Regions from separate parts of the Homo sapiens genome. Here all the other regions are linked to region 1. The links are contacts of gene promoters, found by promoter capture Hi-C in blood cells and fetal thymus (Javierre and others, 2016). All regions are on one chromosome and are shown on one strand. The core of a region is centred on a gene start or on the middle of the fragment in contact, and the rest is flanking DNA. Distances in the headings are between cores, read along the strand shown.

Region 1 (5,317 bases), core at 2,084-4,583:
GATTACTCAGGTATCCCTGGTCTGCATTCCCACCCCCATGCCTCAGTACTGAGTCCCTTGTGTTTTTGGGCGTGGTTGACAGCCACTTTGTGCAGGTGGGGCAGAAACAGCCTGCAGACCTGGAGGTGTCAGGTGTGCACATCTACCCACTGCTTTTCTGTCTTGTTGCTGAAGGGCTGGGCAGTGGAGGACAGTGGGGACAACTGGGGCACAGACTATGAGACGACAGCTTCCTCTGCAGGCCGACGACAGCAGGTCACTGCCCCAGGGAATCTGTGTCACTGCCTACACCATGAGTGCATAGGTTGCGCTCTCCTGAGGCAAGGCCTGACAGCTTTCATAATTGAGAGTCCACATACCTGGCGGGCATCCAGGCTGGAGGCCAGGCAAGCTTCTCCCATCCTTAAACATGGCCTGAAACCGTGCAAGAGAAGATGGAAACAGGCACCTGCTCCAGAGACAGCTTTATGGGTGGGCTCATTTGCAGGAGTTGGGGGCGGGGGTGACCCTGTAGGAAAGCAATCTTCTTAAGACTTCCCGTAGCCCAGTCATGAGTTGTCTGCAGACTGATTGCTCCACCTTCCTTCCTTTTTTTTTTTTTTTTTTTTTTTTTTTGAGACAGTCTTGCTCTGTCACCCAGGCTGGAGTGCAGTGGTGTGATCTCGGCTCACTGCAACCGCTGCCTCCCGGGTTCAAGGATTCTCCTCCCTCAGCCTCCTGAGTAGCTGGGACTACAGCATGCACCACTACACCAGGCTAATTTTTGTATTTTTTGTAGAGACGGGATTTCAAGTTGGCCAGGCTGGTCTCAAACTCCTGACCTCAAATGATCTGCCCGCCTTGGCCTCCCAAAGTGCAGGGATTAGAGGCATGAGCCACTGCGCCCGGCCCATCTTCCTTCTAATTATTAAAAAAAAAAAAAAAAAAAAAAAAAAAGGAAGGCAAGCGGTGGGGAACAGGGAAGCTTGGGGTTTTATAAGGAGAATGTGTTGCTGGCTTTTCAGATCTTAAAAACACTTAATCCCTGCAATTTAGATAAATCAGATAGGCATTACCAGGTTAGGGTTAAGGCTCCCAGAATGGCTTTGCAATTGATTACAAACACAGCACTTATTAAGTCTTAACTGAGTAATTTGCAGCTTATTTCACCCCCAGCTAATTAAAATGTAATCAGGATTGTCTAGCAATGTGCATTCTGTCAGCAGTTTTTCTTCCAAAGAGAAATCATGCCAAGGAGACCACAAGAAAAGCCTTTCACGGGAACTGGCTTCATCTAAGCTGGTGCTTTAGCCACTGAAACTGTAAAACAAATAAATTACAGCACTGACAATTCAAGAAAAAGAAAAAAAAAAGGTACTCTTTCTCCCTGGGAATAGGCTGCTCCGTTTTGTTTTGTTTTCTGTTGTTTCAAACAATAGTGTGGCATCTTAGGAGAGTGACTTTCAGGGTAGGACTCGGAGGGCTGGAAACCAGGTGCCTGGGGATCGGCCCTCTCCTGGCTCTGTCCAGGATGTCTGGGTAATTTCACCACAGGAGGTGAGCACTGGGTCTTCCATTCCCTGAAGACGCAGAAGGACTACAGAGCGTGCCCATTTCTCTGACACCCACGAGACGCTGCTTCTACGACTTAGAACAAACTCAACTGCACACTCGCGAACGCGCCAGCTTCACCAGCCGGTTCAAGATCATCCCCGAGGGTAAGGGGAATCACTTCCACATTCCACCCTTATTAATATGGCCTCCTCTGGCAGCTTAATTCCCAGGGCCTCTAGGGGGACCCCCCCCCCCACCCCTTGACCCAGCTCTGGCAGGAGGGGCGCCCAGTTTAAGAGCCAAGGGTTTGGCTTCCAGTTCCCGCCCAGCCAGGGGAACCCCTCCCCCCAGCCCCCATTTCTCCTTTTGGTCCCTCCAGAGTTTCCCTGAAGCGAGAAATTGGGAACTTGGAACAGGTGGGCACCTAGGGATAGAGGCGAGAAGAAGAAGGAGAGAAGGATGAGAGAAGAGAAAAATAAGCGGAGGATTTCAGAGCTCGCACGCTCGACAGGGCTGGTACAGGCAGCAGCTGCACTCGCTCGCGCTGAGTCCGGAACCTGCTCTCGTGCGCCCACCCGCACCCGGAGCCTCGCGCAAGTCCCGCGGGGGTCCGCGCCACAGGGCAGAGTCCCGGCAACCCGCTGGAGCCAAGCGCGCGGCTCCCGGAGCCTCCCACACAAGCGCGCGCGCACACACACATACTCCCCACCCTCAGGCTGAAAGAACCTACGTTCGGGGTTTGGGGGACGGTTCCCCCGGGACTCGTTGAGGAGTATCCGAATACGGCCCCGCCAAATCCCCTGTCCCCGGCACTTCTTCCCTGACGCTCTACGCTAGTCCAGGGCAAGACCTTGAATCTTTGGGGTTCCGAATTGAGGCGCGCACAGCCACTCGCACCCCCAACACGCGCATACACGCACCCTGGAACACGACTTGGCACAAGTACCCTGGCTGGGGCTCCAAGGGTGGGCAGCGAGCTCTGAGCCCTCAGAGAGTGAAAACCATCTTTCAAAAGAGACAAAGTGTCGGCCCGCGGGCACCTGCGGGGCTGGGGCTCGAGGTGAGGTCCCCAGGCGCAGCCGGACGCGCCTCCCAGACTCCCTCCCAGTGCCCCGGAGCGCCTGGGACTTTGCGGGAGTCGCCGCCCGCCCGGAGTCTCGCGCACTCCAATTCCCGGGAAACCGCCACATCCACACACCCACTCCCAGCATCCACGACTCTCCCTCCCCAGGGAAATCGCCTTTGGTTTCCTGCTGGGAAGGAGGGAGTTGGGGCAAGATGTCTCGGGCTTCTTTTTCTTTTCAGGAGCCGGGAAGAGGCTGGAAAGGAGAGTTCCAGCACCCCGACTGTAAGATCCACGCCCAGGGGAAGCCAGGATCAGCCGGCGGCGCTGGCCGAGAACTTTGCGAGCCCAGGCTGGGAGGCGCGCGCCCCGGTGCGCCCACGCCGCGGCCGCAGCCCCAGAAAGAACCCGGGCGGGGGCCTCCCCGTACCTGGAAGTGCTGGAAGAAGGCGGAGATGCGAGTGATCTGCAGGCTCAGGCACCTGGAGGCGCAGCGAGCGCGCTGGACGCTCCCGGCAGACAGCGACTCGTCCAGCCGCCGCGCAGCAGCCGCGCCGGGGCCGGCCGCCAGGCAGCCGCTGGAGGCCGCCAGCCAGAGGCAGAGGGTCAGGACCGCGCCGGGCACCCCGGGCACCATGGCTGCGGGTCGAGGGCGAGGGCGAGGGCGCCGGGCGCGGGCCGAGGCTCCCTGCTCCGCGCCGGGGCTGCACTGCTGAGGACCAGGCAGACGCCGCGACTGAGCCGGAAAGTTCAATCCTTCAACTCCGGCCGGACCCTCCTCGCCGACCTCCCTCCCAGCTCGCCCTCGAGGGGTGGGGTGAGGGGGACAGGAGGCCGCACCATTGGCTGGAAGGCGTGTGAGTGACAGGGGGGCCGGGCGCAGGGCCCATGGGCCGGTCTCGTCAGCTGCGAGCCCGGGCGCTCCGGGGGAGGGCGACGCCGAGCGGCTTTCCACGCCGCGCAGGTCTCGAGGGGCCCAGCTCCCACGCAGGCGCCTCTCCCGTTCGCACCAACCGCTTCCTGCCCCTCCCACCTTCCCCCTCCGTCCAGGTAAACGTCGGTGTGAGCAGGTCCAGGCCTGCCAGGAGGGGTGCTCCCTTCAGCAGGAGGGAAGAGGCCTCAGGACCCCCAGGGGCGTCCCACCTGCCTGGGGATTGACCCCGCGCCCCTAAGTGGCTTGCTTTCTCCCCGACCTCCCCTGGGTCCAGGCTTTTCCCACGCTTTCACATATTCGAATTTCCTTTGCCCAGGTAGTGGAAAGAAGTGAAGAAAACAAATGGCAGTAAGACAGACGGGGAGGGGAGCGTGGACATTTGCCCTACAGTGTCCCGGAGACAAATTCCTCCTTCTCTCCCTCTTGCATTTCTTCCGTCCTTCCCGCATCCCTCCCTCCCTCCCTCCCGCACTGTTTTCCCTGGAGACAGTCTCAGTGCATAGCTAACCACCTTTAGGTCCACACGCCTTGTTTCCTCAGGTGTCTGTTTTTCTAGTAAGCCTTGCACGCCCCAAAGTGAGTGATTTATTCTAAATAGACTTGCGTCTTAATCTCTTTCTTTCCCCACGATTTGCCCGAGCCTCTTGACTCAGGCTTTTTAGCTTTGGAATGGCTGCTCCGTCCTCTCCTGTCGTTTTTGTCTAGTGTTCTCTCAGCACACAAATTCTCCCTCCCCAGCCAGGATCCTGCCACAGAAAGACAGGAGGCATTGATAAGACACAACTTGTAACAAAGCTCTACACTCCCCTGAGCCCCATCAGGAAGTGACAGTCCCCTTGCAGGTAGGAGAGCCCAGAGAAAAAAGACCCAGGCACACTCCTATTCGAATGGACAACAACTGACTGCTGTTCCTTTGCTCTGACATCTCCACCCTCTCCTACCCAATTGCACTTTCACCTTCGAAAACGGGATCTCTATAAGCACCCAGCTAAGCACAGTCAGGGTATCTAGATGCACTCGCTCTACTCAAAGCTACATCAGAAGGCTGGAATCCTCTTTGCACAAAGCCTATATAGTTGTTTTGCAATTTCCCACCCTTTTCCCTATTCTTATACACAGGTTCCACTCTGCAATTTTGAGATCTGCCTGTTAACAAATTGCAATGACAGCCATCTGCAGCTATCCTATTATGAGTGCTTTTCAAATACATCATCTTACATGTGTATTTCTTCACATAGCTTAAATCAGAAAGGCCAGTCAAATTAATTGGCCTTGGTGTGTTTCTCAGCGAATTAGAAAATCAGGGTCATCTTGTTCAAAAGGTTCTATAGGCAAAGCCAGTTTCATGGACATGCAAGCTGTACAATGGTACAGTCGCACTCTTAGAAGGCCTGTTCTGCCATCACCATCCTGAAACTCTTCACAATGACAGTGGCCTGTTAGGAACTGGGCCGCGGCAGGCCAGGGAACATTACTGCCTGAGCTGTGCCTCAGGTGAGAAATCAGTGGCAGCATTAGATTCTGATAGGAGCTTCAGTCCTATAGTGAACTATGCATGCGAGATGTCTAGGTAGCGCACTCCTTATGAGAATCTAATGTCGATCTGAGATGGAGCAGTTTCATCCCCAAGCCATCACTTGCTACCCCCAGGTCCATGGAAAAATTGTCTTCCATGAAACCAGTCCCTGGTGCCAAAAAGGTTGGGGCCACTCTTTACTTGGGCTGGAAACCTAGTAATTTTGGCATAAGCTTACACGACTTCAATGATTTGTTTTAAAATTGCTCAG
Region 2 (5,317 bases), core at 962-3,461, 760 kb before region 1:
GTATAGAGGAAGAAATAGATAAATAAACATTATAAGCTAAAAATTCACACAGTAAACAGAAGACCAACAGAATGGGAGAAAATAGCTGCAAGCTATACCTCTGATAAGGAACTTGTATTAGTCCATTTTCATACTGCTGATAAAGACATACCCAAGACTGGGCAGTTTACAAAATGGCTGGGGAGGCCTCACAATCATGGCAGAAGGTGAAAGGCACATCTCACATGGCTGCAGACAAGAGAAGAGAGCTTGTGTAGGGAAACTCCCCTTTTTAAAACCACCAGATCTCATGAGACTTATTCACTATCACGAGAACAGCATGGGAAAGACCTGCCCCCGTGATTCAGTTACCTCCCACTGGGTTCTACCCACAACATGTTGGAATTCAAGATGAGATTTGGGTGGGGACACAGCCAAACCATATTAGAACTAATACCTAGAGTTTATAGGGAACTCAAATCCGCAAGCAAAAAAGCAAATAATCCCATTAAATTGGACAAACTACATGAACAGACATTTCTCAAAAGAAGATATACAAATGGCCAAGAAACATAGGAAAAAATGCTCAACATCACTAATCACCAAGGAAATGAAAATTAAAACTACAATGACATACCACCTTACCCCAGCCAGAATGGCCGTTATTAAAAAATCAAAAAACAATAGCTGTTGGCATGAATGTGGTGGAAATGAAACACTTATATGCTGGTGGTAGCAGTGTAAATCAGTATAGCCTCTATGGAAAACAATATAGAGATTTCTCAGAGAATTAAATGTAGATCTACTATTTGATCCAGTGATCCCACTACTAGGTATCTATACAAAGGAAAAGAGGTCGTTATATAATAAAGAACCCACATACATATGTTTATCGTAGCACAGTGCACAATTATAAAGATATGTAATCAACCTAAGTGCCCACCAACTGATGTGTGGCTAAAGAAAGTGTGTTTTATACACATACACACACACACACCATGGAATACTACTCAGCCATGAAAAAAGAATGAAATAATACCCTTTGCAGCAACTTGGATGGAATTGCAAGCTATTATCCTAAGTGAAGTAACTCGGGAATGGAAAAGCAAATACCACATGTTCTCACTTACAAGTGGGGGCTAAGCTGTGACTATGCAAAAACATACAGAGTAGTACAATAGACATTGGAGACTCAGAAGAGGAGAGAATGGTAGGAGGTAATGAAAAATTACCTGTTAGGTACAATGTATGCTATTTGGGTGATGGATGCACTAAAAGCCTGGACCTCACCACTGTACAATTCATTCATGTAACCAGAAACCACTTGTACCCCCAAAGCTATTGAAATGAAAATAAATAATGGAAGCAAAATACAGCATGCGGCATAAATGCACAGAGCATGTATGTGATGCATTTATATGATTTTAGCCATATTTGTATTTATATGAACTTTTCAATTGATGGTTTGGCATATGAGATTAGGAGGCCTTTAAGGAGAATATACCTGGATTTTGGAGACGTGAGTTCTGTACTTCCTGTGTACTATGAAATTTCTGGACTCAAACCTTTTTTGATTTTGCAGTACACAGCAAAATAGAACTGTCTTTTCTGGGCACATGACAGAAATTAAAAGGAGAAGGGGCTAAGTTCAAAGGAATATAATTAATGTCCTAAAGGGGTTAAAAGCGTAAACTTAATCATTGCATCATCAGGTGACCTGTCAGCATGAGAACATTGCTTAATCTTGTACAAGTTACCTTCAGGAGAAAGTTGGTAATTCTTCCATGATTAGAATTACTTGTCAGGTTCACTTTAAAAATACGTAAATCTGAGTTTTTCCCGGTGACAACCAGCCCAATCAAAGAAAGCATGTGTTAAATAGAATGAAATTGCATTGTAAGTCAATAAGCCCAAATTAGAATAGCACTGTACAACTTCTCTCGGTGTTGCGATCCTAAAGATTTGTTATACAAGTGAAGTTAGGGACAGATCGAAAGACAGAGATCGCACATGTTAAAGAATGGTTGTGATGGAGGTTACTAAAGAGCTAGCTATACTGATAAAATGCATCAGATTGTTTAAACCTAAAATATATGGAAATAAAAATGTTGGAAACAAACATCTCAGTGAAGCTTTCTTCAATGGTTTTGTGTGACTCCATTTAAACAGAGATTACTAAAACCACTATAAACTAGAAAGTACAGAATCTCTAGGTAAAAGCTGAAGAAAGCACTGAAAGGGCATAATTCACATAAATCATGATCTAGGACCATCACTTAAAGAATGTAACAGCATTTTCTTATCACAGGGATTCTTGCCCATTGATGAACACTGAAGCTTTCTGAAGTTGTAACTGTTCTTTCCATTCTTTCTACCCTTTTATCTTGGAATGCAGCCAAGGATACTTGGCATAATGTGTTGCACAGTGACCATTCCACAAATTGTGAAACTGACTTTACAAAAATTATATCAATGAGAAAATTATGACAGTGAAAGAGATCTGAGCTCATCCACTCCCCATCTTACCTTTCCCTTAATTATTCCTGCATTATTGGACCTAGCTGATCCATCAAGGGCAGGGTCTGCAAAATATCTCAAGAATTGATCTTAGGTTTTACAATAGTGGTGTTATCTCCAGGAGCAATTTGGGGAGGTTCAGACACTTGAAGCAAGAGGTTGCATGACTCCTAAACAGTAATTTATAATCTTAAAGCTACTTTGTTAGTCCTACAAAGGCAGACTGGTCCCCAGACAAGAAGGGGTCTATTTGGGTAAGGGCCATTATCAATTTTGTTTCAGAGTTAAATGAGAAACTAAATTTCTTCCCAAGGTTAGTTCGGCCTATGTCCAGGAATGAACAAGGACAGCTTAAAGGTTAGAAGCAGGATGGGGCCAGTTAGGTCTGATTTCTTTCACTGTCATAATTTCCTCAGTTATAATTTTTGCAAAAGCAGTTTCAAATCCACACTTACTTTTATCAGGGAATTTTGTGAAGTCTTGTTCTATGATTTCAAAATACTGTGTTAGCTTTCGACAGCTTGGGAACATACCCATTCTATAAATTATGGCAAACTGTACTTGCTACGGTTTTATATTTTATTATATCACATGATTATCATGACAGTTTGTGGACTTATTTTCCTTTCTTTTGAGATTTCTTGTTAGGACTTGGGTCTTTTGGAATGTCAATTTCAATGATATTTATTGACTGCTTACTAAGCAGGTATTATGTAGAGCAACTAAAATAAGCAAGCATCTAACTTGGAAAGAGCAAAATATAAACCAAATGAAGAAAATGCAATAGGAAAAGGGTGTAAAAATGCACTAAATCTTTTCCTGAACTCTACATTCATTGTCCTTATTTTTCTTTTTCACTGTTTGTATAATACAGGGTATAATTAATTGGAATTTTTGTTTTGTTTTGTTTTGTCCCCATTCCAATTCTGCCCCTGAAACCACCTTTGCAAAATTATCACTGAGACAGTGAAAGAGATCTAACTTAATCGACTCCATCTTGCTTCCAAACTCCAAGCTGTCCTTGTTCATTCCTGGGCTCAGGGTGAACCAACTTTGGGAGAAACTCAGTTTATAGTTTAAACTAAGGATGATAACAACCCTTTCCCAAAGGAGGTCTCCTTCTTGCCTGGGGTCTAGATTGCCTTTGTAGGACTAACATTAGCCACAAGATTAGAAATTGTTTCTTAGGAGTCATGCAGCTGGAGGCTACAAGATTCTGAGCCTCCCTAAACTGCTCCTAAGATCAGTGCCTGAGATATTTTGCAGACCCTGCATGTGACAGATCAGCTGGCACCTCCCAGATCAGTAAACTGGGTCATCTGATCCTGTGCCCCTGACCCAGTAACTGACTCAGTACAAGAGGACGGCTTCAACTCCCTATGATGTCATCCCTCACCAATTAGAGCTCCTGGCTCACTGGCTTCACCCCACCCACCAAGTTCTCCTTAAAGACTCTGCTCCTGGAGTAATAATAAAACTCTGATCTCCTGCACAGCTGGCTCTGTGTGAATTTCTCTTTCTCTATTGCAGTTCCCATCTTGAGAGATCGACTTTGTCTGGGTAGCAGGCAAGGTGAACCTATTGGGAGATTACAAATTTGGGTGCTCATCTGAGATTGCCCTTATGGCTACTTCTGCCCATGGTTTGATACCAGCCTTGGTAAGGTTTCCCTTTTAATGAAAAGAAGCCCCCAAATAATTTCTTTTCTAACAGAGAGCAGCCTGTAAAATTGAGCTGCAGACATAGATAACCAAGCTGGAAGCTTACACGGGTGAATGCCGGCAGCTGTGCTAATAGGAAAAGGCTACCTGGAAGCTAGGCATGTCCAACATGGTGGCTCCATCTTCCCCTTTCCTTGCCAACCACATGTGCAGTAGGGAGCAGACAACATGGCACTCACTAGCCCACTAGAAAACCCATTTGCATAATAAAAAGATTAGCATGGGGCAGCCAGGTTCTTTGCGTGCTATATAAACATCACACCTGGTCCAACCAATCTTTGAGTCCTATGTAAGTTAGACACCGCCTCCTCAAGTCAGTCGTAAAACCCCATGCACTTCACCACAAAATCGAAGACCCACTTGGGTAGCACCCCTCTCTCTCTGCAGGAAAGAGAGTTATTCTGTTTTTCTTTCGCCTATTAAACCTCCACTCTTAAACTTACTCCTCGGGTTGTCCATGTCCTTTATTTCCCTGGCATGAGGCAATGAACCTCTGGTATTACCCAGTGAAGGATGCCATTTCAGTATCACAGAGAAGTTTATCCCTTCAATGGAAACTGTGTTATGTGGACTATTAGCAATAATAAATGGGTTACTACCTGGTGAAAAAATATGTTATTTTATAATATCAGACTGCCAGTTTTTTTCTGTCTTTGCTCCATCTTGACCTTAAGATGTTCATCAACTCATTTTTTTCAAGCAAAGTACATGACTGATGGAACTGCCATAATAATAATATTTCACTGAAATCTGGCATTACAAAATTTAAGTGGGTATTTGGAGGTCCATGCATTGATTACAGTTTTTAAATTTGAAATAAATAACCAGCATCCTTTGAATATGAAAAGCTGTTTCCTTTTGACATTTAATTTACCCTGTTTAAAACGTGAGATGTAAAGCGGTGGTTAGTCAGTGAACTAGAATTTTTGTTGTAGAGTATCCAGGACTTGGAAGAGTATCATGAAAGAATTCTTTTTGGTTGGTGAAGAGTGTCAACTTGAAAAATAAATCGCTGTGTTCCAAAATAAAATTGTGTCAGAGACTGTAAGTAGTGCGTATTTAATCTTAATAACTCAAGATTGATGTAATTACTGGAATAT
Region 3 (5,317 bases), core at 1,058-3,557, 720 kb before region 1:
TTTGCCTCAGATCCAAAGATGACCAAGACAGATCCCTCCAAGAAGGGTGTATATCCTAGTGTGAGTGAACTACACAAACATGACACAGGAAAAGACAACTGGTTCCCAAGGTTAAGAGTGCAATTCACTTTTGTGAAAAACATGCCTGAGAGTGTTGCTAGAGGTTCTCATTCTGTTTTTTTAAATATTTTTAAAAAATCCATGTTTAAATTGACAAATAAAAATTGTATGTATGTTATCATGTACAACATGTTGTTTTGAAATATGTATACAATGTGGAATGGCTAACTCAAGCTAATTAAGATATGTATGATCTCACATACTTATTTTTTTGTGGTAAGAACACTTAAAATCTATTCTCTCAGTGATTTTCAAGTATGCAGTACATTGTTATATAGTGAGCATGATGTACAGTAGGTCTCTTATTCCTCCTGCCTAACTGAAATTTTGAATCCTTTGACCAACATCTCCCCAACCCAAACCCTATCTTCCCCTTAACCACTAATAATGACCACTCTACTCTCTACTTCTATGAGTTCAACTTTTTAAAGATTCCATACATAAGTGAAACCATTCAGTATTTGTCCTTTTGTGCTTGGCTAATTTCACTTAGCAAAATGCCCTCCAGATTCATCCATATTGTTGCACATTACAGACATTTCCTCTTTTTTTAAGGCTGAATCAGAATTTCATTACAGAATTACCCCATTGTGTATATATACACAATATATACACAACATATTGTAGATATATACACAATATATACACAACATATTGTATATATATACACAATATATGCACAACATATTGTATATATACACAATACTCCATTGAGAAAAATCACATCACATCCATTGTGTATGTATACCACATTTTCCTTATATGTTCATTTACTGATAGACACATAAGTTGATTCTATATCTTGGCTATTGTGAAAAACGTGGAAATGAACATGGGAGGGCAGATATTTCTTTGACATACTGATTTTACCTCCTTTCAATATACATCCACTAGTGGGATTGATGGTTAAGTTTCTAATTCTCAAAAGATTAAGATAACCTTTATAAATGTCTGGAAAAGTTTACATATATTTATAATTACATATAAATATATGGGATAATTATATATAAGTATATAATTATGACAGAAAATGAATCTTTTTCTCCTATTTAAATGCTTAAAAATCATTCACCTCAAGAAGATCAGATACTTATCTATTTTTTTCTCCTATGGGTCATAGTTTTAATTAAATTCTCTAAACAATTTTGGGCTTAAAATTTGTGTTTGATATGATATAAAACTCTAAATCTGTTTATTTTACCCAAAATTTTAACCAAGTTTCCTGGTAACGTCTATTGCAAAATTCTTTCTCTCTCGACTAGGGTAGTTTAATTAATCCCCACCTCCTACACTGAGTTATATTTAATGTATACTTCCAGTTTCACAGAGCCTAAACTTTATTCTTAATGAGAATCAGTGATTAACCTAGTATGATCCTACCAAGTAAGTTAGAATATTATGTTGCCTGCCTGAAATACATTTTTTATATTGAACACAGAATAATAGATTTATGCTATTTGCCTAAAAAGTATTTTCTCTGCTTCCATTTAATAAATAGTGGACAGATATTTAGATAACATATTTCGAAGGTACACCAAATTATTAGATTACCATGATAGCCACATGATTTCACTTGGCTTTAGGTTGATTGCACTGTTTTTTGTTTTTTCTTTTTAAAACCTCCATCATCCTTATTGCGAGTTGAAATTCTTCTTGCCTGCCCTGAGAATTGGAGTGGTCAAATCAAAAAGCTTTTATGAAAGAGGTTTTAGTGGTGGTGTGAGATTTTGTCTTTCTTATTTTTCAGAGACATTTTGGTAGGAGATAAGAAATTGCTGGAATCATTTCCAAGCCTGGCTACATTCTTTAGTAGCTCTGTAATTTTGGGCACATTGCTTTCTCAAACTTGTTTCCACATATGTAAATAGGAAATAGTGATATCTACATTACATGGTTATTAGCACAGTTTCTAGCATTTGTAACCACTCAGTGAATAGTAGGAGCTATTGGTATTTACAAAGTAGGGGAAAGTTGAATACAAAGTTAGTATCCAAAAGTATATTGGATACTAAAAGCCAGATGTTCTCTTCTGCAAGAATTCTCTCACAGATGACTTCAATAAGTTACTATTAAATGAATGATAAATGGATAAATGAGTGGATACCTTCATAAACAAACACAGATAACACATGGCAAGGCATGGATGGATCAGAACTGTCTACTTCCTTCTGGCCAATCCAACTTTTTTATGTGCCTTGCAACTTCTTGCCTATACAGGTGAATTTCAAATGTGCTGTCTTGTTGTCATCAGTTACCCTAGATGATTCCTCCTCTCCACCAATTCTCTTCCTTTAACCCCTTCTCAGGGGTTAAACTTTCTGATCCAAAGTTCCCTGCCTTGAACCTGCATTGGGTCTTCAGGTTTGGAATTTTTACGTTAGAGTCTGTATTCTAACCTTTATTTTCCATGAAGGTCCTGGCCTTAGCTTAATCCTGGTTGTTCTCCATGATCTGAAATACAATAAATCATTCAGCAGAAATATTTGAGATCCAATTTGTCTCGAGGGAACAGTATTTCTGAGTTAGATACTGTAAATTTTGGCAGATAAGCTATGATATTTAGTGCAGAATTATAGTCTTGTAAGCAATATGTGTTTTTTTTTCCTCTTCCGAGATGGAGTTTTGCTCTTTTGCCCATGCTAGAGTGCAGTGGCACAATCTCGATTCACTGCAGTCTCCACCTCCAAGCTTCAAGTGATTCTCCTGCCTCAGCCTCCTGAGTAGCTGAGATTACAGGTGCACACCACCGGGCCTGGCTAATTTTTGTATTTTTAGTAGAGAAGGGATTTTGCCATGTTGGCCAGGCTGGTCTCGAACTTCTGACCTCAGCTGATCTGCCTGTGTCGGCCTCCCAAGTGCTGGGAGTACAGGTGTGAGCCACCATGCCCGGCCAAATATGTGAATTTTTAAAGTGGCTGTGCATCCAAAAGCTATTATTTTGTACATGTTTAAGATAGAAATTAAATAATGGCAATACAATTTATTAGTTCATATCAAGTAAAAACAGTTGGGGTTGCCTGAAGATGGGAAAATTAACACATTATAATAAAATCCTTACTATTTATTGAGAAATAAACAATGAACTAATTGTATTTATAAATTGTCCCTAAATTAGAATTTACAACCCAAGTGCCTTTCCCAAACCTATCAAAACAGAACCACCTTGCAATAATAATATCCAAGAAATTATCATTTACCCAGAAATCTCAGCTGATTTGCAGATGGAAGTAGCAAAGTCTCTCGTCCTCAGGATTGGTTGTCACAGGTTTACACTACCAAAGTGTCTTGGAAAATTCCATCATTGTTTTATGCCTTATTTTACTGCCTTCTTTTCAAATGTTCTCTCCCTGCCTCGAAATGACTTCTGGTTCATGAAATGTATGGCGTTTTCTCAGCCTGAGAGACCTGGAGATCAGCATCACTCTGTTCATAGATTGTAGATTGTGCAGTTGTGGTGGCTCTGGCAGCCAAAATCCCAAAGATCATGTTGTCAGTCACTGTGCGCAGTCCAGAAAATTAACTTTCCGTCATTATAATTCTGTGGTTTTTGAAAGTATATCAAAAATAATATCCTTTTAGAATACTTCTGTAGTATTCTGATTTTTTAACGGAATTCTTTATTCTCCTTTGAGTCACTTGGAATCTACTTCTAATCCAGTCACTTGGACCATAGGATCCAGCACAGTGGGACCTGCCCATGCTAACCCTACCCCAAAGTGGGTGGTTTGCACAAGGACCAAGGTCAGTTGCCCTCAGCTGCAGCACTACTGACATTTGGAGCTGGATCCATCCTCTGTGGTGGGGTTGCCCTGTGCCTTGTGGATGTTTCGCAGCATCCTGGCCTCCACCCACTTGATGCCAGGAACATCACCCTCAGTGGTGACAACTAAAAATGCCTCCAGACATTGCCTAATGTACCCTGGGGGACAGTGTCACCCCTGGGTGGGAACCACTGAGCTGGATTAATACCCTCCTCATATCAAAGCTTGCACTAACTCTTCAGTGTGGGAGACTTGGCAAATTATATCACAACAGTGTGTTGAACCTGTGCATAGAACAATCACTCTAACATAACTTTTATTGCCCAGTTAAAAATTCCTCCAGGGGTTGCTACAGATACGTATCTAGGCTGTTTGAACTCTACCTGATTAGGCACTCAAAATTAATGTGCCTCAAGATGTTATGATCAAACCAACTCGTGTACTGATCATTGATGTAAAGCTATTTGGACTTGAATAATATGTGTTCCATACACATGCATGTCAATATTTTAAAATCTCCTTAATCAGATTAAACAATCTCACTCCGAAAAAATATTTTAAAGAAGATAATTGTCCGTGCAATATAGCTATTTATCCTTGCCTTTTTAAAAATAATGTAAAGAAAACAAGAGTAGTTTTTCCTGTAAGAAAATATTTCTTCATTCACACTCCTTAACAAATTCAATTTCTTTAAATAGCGAGTATTTTTTTTTCTGCAGACATAAAGGTTTACTTATTTCCTAAGTTATTCCTAGTGACTGTGAATGTGTATTTTCACCAATTTATTAACAAAATATTTCTAATTATTCAAAACTGATTAATCCCTGTATAATACATTTTTTAAAATTTTGAAATATTCTTAATCTTAAGAATAATTTCAAAAAAATCCAAGAACTTTTATTTTTCCTAAGCTATTTGAAGACAGTTGTTGAAATACTTGTGTGTGTATTTTCTACAAAGAAGTACATTCTCTTATATAATCAGAGTACAGCCACCAAAATCAGGAACTGCAGCTTGGCATGTAGCTGCCACATATCCCCTTCAAAGTTTGCCAGTTGTCCTCATAATGTCCCTCACAGTGGAAAGATTCAATACAGAATCATGCATTGTGTTTAGTTTCATGTGTGTGGTTTTTTTTTTTTTTTTGTCGGGGAGGGGGCGGTCTCTTTCAATCTGAAATCATCCCTCAGCCTTTCTTGGACTATTGTTTTTGGACCTTGATGTTTTTGAAGGTTTCATGCCAGTTAGTTTGCCTATTGGTTTTGTCTTATGTTTGCTCATGATTACATTTGGATTATGCATTTGTAGTAGGAACACTACAAATGTGACTCTGTGTTTTTCTCCCTGCATCCCATCCGGTGGTCGATTTTTCTCCTGGCTTGTTAACCTTGATCACTTGGTTAAGGCAGAGTATTCCAAGTTTCTCTGTTGTAATC
Region 4 (5,317 bases), core at 1,400-3,899, 690 kb before region 1:
ATGTAAAATAATGGTGATTCAATTACCTACACCCTTGTGTTTGTGAATTAAGATATATCTTTGCAATAATATTTCCATCTTCTCTCCAATGTCAGATCTTTCCTTTTTTTTTTTTTTGTGGGGGGGGACAGGGTCTCACTCTGTCACCCAGGCTGGAGTGCAGTGGCGAGATATCAGCTCACTACAAGCTCCGCCTCCCGGGTTCAAGCGATTCTCCTGCCTCCACCTCCTGAGTAGCTGGGATTACAGGCATGTGTGCCACCATGCCTGACTAATTTTTGTATTTTTAGTAGAGATGGAGTTTTGCTATGTTTGCCAGGCTGGTCTCTAATGCCTGACCTCAGGTGATCCGCCCGCCTTGGCCTCTCAAAGTGCTAGGATTACAGGCCTGAGCCACCATGCCCAGCCTCGTGTCAAATCTTAGTAGCTCAGTAGAATAGTAAGGTAAGATCAATTCTTCACATCAATACTTAAATACTTCTCAGATTAAGGACTGTGTCTTAGAATTTGAGACCTCAAAAATACCTTGTAATAACTATTTCTAAAAGTCCCTAAATTGTCCAGGTTAAGTGTTGTTTTATAAAAATATGTGTTTGAAAGAAAAAAAAAGGGATTTCTAATCTTTTAAAATTTTCATACAGAAGAAAAGGTGAATTCAAGGTACATATGTTATCAGGTTTTTTAAAAAATTAAAAAATAAAAATAATTTGTGTTTGAGGCAAAATAATGGATTGAGAAACAGTAAAATGTCTTAAAGAATCATTTACAAAATTAAGACTAAATTGAGGGAGCTTTAATGATTATGGGGAATCACATAAAAGTTTTCAAAATGTACATGAAGCTTTGGAAATGATGTTTATTGAATTAAATTGACTATAGGAAAAGGAAACCTAGAGATAACATTCTGGAAATATGTTCTGCAATTTCTGTATTTCATAAATGAATTAACTCTAAGGCAATTATGAGGAAGATGAGATAAATAGTATTTTTCCTCTCTTTATCTCTTTCATCCTTTTTTCCTTCTCTAAGTTATAGCACCTCAAGCAGAGCCTCTTAAAGACAAAGGCTTCCCAAATGCTGAAATACTTATAAAGTCTGATGGGTTTGTCTTCTGACGTTTGGGATTTCTTTTTATTTTGCTTTCTATAGAAAACTCAACAGTCCAAAGGCCAGAATAGGACGTCTTCTATCAAACTCTCAGGTTTTCCTGTCTTCCCTCAGTATCAAGGCATAGCTTTCACTAACATTTGCAAAAGACATCCATTTAACTAAGGCTGTTGATTACCCAAGTGTGGCAGTTGTCAGAAAATACTTACTACATAACACTAGAATCACTGGAAACCGAATTGGAGTTAAATAAGGTGGATTAACATAGCTAATGTGTTCAAAGAAACATAGAATTTTACTCTACTGCTTAGACACCAAATTTATCTGTGAATTTTGTAAATAGACTTAATTTTTTATAAAATGACCTAAACTCTATACATAGTATGTGAATAATGGGAGTTTGTTATTTAATATTTAAATGTCTACTATGAAGACAGCTTTTGGATGTTAGCCCCTTAAACACCCTAAATAGTCCCTTGTTAAAAGTAAAAATCTGAGTCTCAGACAAGTTTAGACACTTTCAAAGACCAAGTTGGATGCTTTATGAAGACAGGAAGGGATGTCAGCTAATCAGAGTGCGAGTAAACAAGTGAAACTATGGCTAAGCTATTCCCGAGTGAGAACTCCCCATGAGAGGAAATTAAGGAATTCCCCTGCTTCTATGTGAAATGCTGCTATGTAGTGCACGGCACACCAGTATGCCATAAGATTTGTTAAAGCCCATTGTTGTGCTGGGGAATTGTGGGGCCACTTACATATGTGGCAGGGTAATTAGTAATAGCTAATTTATTACTGATGCCAGTCAGTTAATCTGGGATTAATTCAGAACCATACATTTTAATTATTCTTTGTTAAAAGTGTATAGTTATGAGTAATAACTTGGGTTTTAATTTTCTACCCCCTTTCTGCAAATAAAACCTGATGATTTGAACACAGATATCTTTCTTCAGTTTTCACATTATTATCCTGTCTTAATCAAGCTTAACTTGATTAAATCAAGTATTATTTGAAATACACACACACACACACACACATATGTACACAATGCAATGGAAGATACTTAAATTGTATAGGCTGTGGTTTGTGATAATTCTAATGATTTCATTTATGACTAAGTTGATGGTATTTCAGTGCAGAGGTCAGCACGCATCCCATTGTTGTTGAGTGTGTTTGGTCTATGTGTGTGTGTGTTTGTGTGTATGTTTCTGAGTTTCTCTTGAGTTTGCAGTCCAATATATGGATCCATGCTGCAAATGCATGAGCCCATTCTCTCCTTTGTCTGCTTTCTCCTGTCAAACCTAAGAAGTCTCCAGGGTGGTTGTGAAGCCATTCACTGAGCGCCAGTCATGGGCCACTGCACCCATTGAGCCGGTTGCCTGCTCAGCAGGCACCACTCTGGCTCAGAATACGGGGTGACAGGTGTGTGGTTGAGCAGGCTTCCTCATTAGGTCCTGCAAGGACAGTGCCCCTTTATCGACAGCCCTTATCAGAGAGGGATCAGTAAACAGGCAGATCCCGTGGCTGAGCTGGGCAGCATTAAAGGCTCCATTGGGAGAGGACCGATGACACCTGCCCTCTTCTACAAAGAGCTCTTCTTGCGAAGGTGACAAAAGGATTGCATTTCAGGGGAATGAAGGCCTATAGGGATGTCTTTCATCCCTCCCAAGCATTCTCTCCTGACACATTCAGCAGTTCTTGACTATTGAGAGGAAACCATTGAAAATCATGAAAGAGCAAAGGGCCCCAAGGCCTCCTTCTGTCCTGTCCTGCCTTTACTGATGAGACCTTCTAAGTTTCCACTGCTGACTCACTTGCAGTACCCATGTTCTCCTTAGGAGGCTGCATTGAGGAGAGGAAAAGTGGAAAAGGGTTAGTTCACAGCCCATTGAAGGAACAATAAACCCATCCACAGACAACTAGATTGAGCCCTGCACATAATATGATACCTGCTCTAATTTGGTACACAGTGAGTACAGTCCCTTATCCCAAACTAGAAAGAGCAGAATCAGAAAGGGCGCAGGGCCAAGTCATAAGGTGAAAAGAATGTAATACACAGGTTAAAATGAATAAGTCTAACTAGATTGCCAAAAACAATCTGGACCACTTAAGCTTCTGCGTTTGATAATGATATATGGTTAATCTGGCAGTTTTGTCCACATATTGTGGCAAAATGTGCAATTCCTATAGTGAAGCTAAGTGAGATGGTTAACTTAATGACTGTCACTATTCAGAGGTGTCATTTATTAGCTTCTGAACTCTTAGATGTTGGAGAACACAATTTGCAAAACAAGATATTGAGTTGATGGATGAAAGTGAACCTGAAGAAAATAGTCTAGAAAGGCTATATTCATTTAGTTTCTTTTTACTTTTGATTTTCATAAGTTCTCATAGTTGAGGATGGAAAATTAAAAACACATGACATTGGTAACAATACACAGTTGTTGTACAGCACCAAAATATTGTAGCATACCAGCTGTAACAGCAGTATGAAGCCAGAGCTGCTTCAAGGAGTAGGGCTTTGATAGATTATTTTTCTTAGATTATTTTTCTTCTCACATAACAAGAACTCGGGATGTAGGTAGCCTGAGGCTGCTTTGCTGATCATGACTTAGGGCCTTAGAACTTTCCTACTCTGCCACTGGGAATTCTTGCATGATGACTCCTGTACCTCCGAGCTTAGGTATAAGATGTAGGCAGGTAGAAACTGGGTCTCAAGAAAAAAGACACACATCTGCAGGTCTGCCTTCATCTTCCTATGGCTACCCCCAGCTGCAAGGAAATCTGGGAAGCTGCATATTTTAATTGGATACATTGTCATCCTCAACGTCATGGTTGTGAAATAAGGAGGAAGGGGAGGGTGGCTGTTGGGTGGCATACTAAATTCAAGTGCATTCAAGTACTATAGAGGGTAGTGCCATAGGATTTCAATAGGAGGACAGGAGAGTGTTCACCTAATCAGAAATGACACCCTCATGGAGGTGGAACTTAAAGGGCTTTGAAATATGTTTAGAGCTTCTGGAAACAAAACGATTTTTCAGAGCAGATGTAATGGGGACTAACGTGAGAGACAGGAAATTGCCTTATACCAAAGGCATGAGGCAACCTGTCTTCCCAGTATAAAAAGGAAGGATTGGCATTATAATGAGGAGAAAGCTGTCACTGGAATGGAAGGTACATTAAGGGAATCACAGGGAAATTATAAGAGCCCTTGAAAGACAAGCAGAGGTTCAGGGCTGGAGAGAAGAGGAAATGAAATAAGTTCTCATTCAAGCTTCCGGCATGAGTAGGTGGGGTAAGGCGGCAGCATCTCTAGACACAGGAAAAATGAATAGTCTGTTCAGAAAAATTGGAAAGAATCAATCAAAGGGATATTAGAATATCTTGCACCTTACTAGATAATAGAGCAAGTTTGTGCTCACGGAAGAAAAAGGAAATAGAACTATCAAAGATAGTCACACATTCTACGTTTCCTAGCAGCCCAGCAGAATTGTAGTGTGGCCAAGAATGTTGGAAAGAAGCAGCACATTTTTAGGAAAGAGGATGGTTCCATTTGCGATGCACTCAAGTAGACAGAGTCAAGCAGCCTAGGAACTGAGGATCTAGGAGCAGCACACAGGGGAGGCCTGAGGTCTGCAGGTATTTGGATGGGATTTATTACTATTATTATCATTGTAGGTTGTTTTCTGATTACCTAGACATTTTTATTTGTTTATTTGTGATACATAATGTACATATTTATGGGGTGTATGTGTTATTTTGATACATGCATAGAATGTGTAATAATCAAATCAGGGTATTTAGGATATTCGTCACCTTGGAAATTTGTCATTTTTTAATGCTGCAAACATTTCAGATCTGCTCTTCTAGCTATTTTGACACACACAGTAGATTATTGTTACCTATACTTACCCTGCTATGGAGGTTGCTGTCGCAGAAGGGACTGGATTTATTTGTAAAGGGATGAAGATGGAGAACCATAGAGAAAACCAGAAACAGAGCCTCATAGACACTCAGCATTAAGGAATAAGGTAGTGAGGAGAGAGAGCCATGATGCCAGGTCAGCAACACACAGCAAGAATGTGCTACCAGAGGTGCTGTCTTCGTCTGTTTTCACATTGCTGATAAAGACATACCCAAGACTGGGTAATTTATAAAGAAAACGAGGTTTAATGGACTCACAGTTCCATGTGGCTGGGGGCTGGGGAGGCTT

Evidence for each region. Contacts are between HindIII fragments. The CHiCAGO score rates a contact against its expected background, and 5 or more counts as called.
Region 2: a fragment that was not itself captured here is called in contact with the fragment with the promoter of ANOS1 in region 1 in 5 of 17 cell types (M0 macrophages, total CD8 T cells, M2 macrophages and 2 more); the score reaches 10.0 in M0 macrophages.
Region 3: a fragment that was not itself captured here is called in contact with the fragment with the promoter of ANOS1 in region 1 in 10 of 17 cell types (M2 macrophages, naive B cells, M0 macrophages and 7 more); the score reaches 11.4 in M2 macrophages.
Region 4: a fragment that was not itself captured here is called in contact with the fragment with the promoter of ANOS1 in region 1 in 4 of 17 cell types (M0 macrophages, M2 macrophages, naive CD4 T cells and 1 more); the score reaches 6.8 in M0 macrophages.

What each region holds. Positions count from the first base shown.
Region 1 is chrX:8,728,804-8,734,120 of GRCh38, forward strand. ANOS1 (anosmin 1) reads right to left here and starts at 3,334. Exons shown (of 14, transcript NM_000216.4): 1 at 3,027-3,334. The coding sequence starts at 3,233. RefSeq lists an enhancer at 1-240. The HindIII fragment of the contact is 4,315 bases long and covers 963-5,277 here.
Region 2 is chrX:7,968,932-7,974,248 of GRCh38, forward strand. The region is part of intron 1 of LOC107985675 (a long non-coding RNA gene); the gene reads left to right. Among named protein-coding and RNA genes, the nearest start is that of PNPLA4, 44 kb to the left of the region's middle. The HindIII fragment of the contact is 205 bases long and covers 2,110-2,314 here.
Region 3 is chrX:8,010,600-8,015,916 of GRCh38, forward strand. All of the region lies in intron 1 of LOC107985675 (a long non-coding RNA gene), which reads left to right. Among named protein-coding and RNA genes, the nearest start is that of PNPLA4, 86 kb to the left of the region's middle. The HindIII fragment of the contact is 997 bases long and covers 1,810-2,806 here.
Region 4 is chrX:8,039,573-8,044,889 of GRCh38, forward strand. All of the region lies in intron 1 of LOC107985675 (a long non-coding RNA gene), which reads left to right. Among named protein-coding and RNA genes, the nearest start is that of MIR651, 85 kb to the right of the region's middle. The HindIII fragment of the contact is 1,129 bases long and covers 2,086-3,214 here.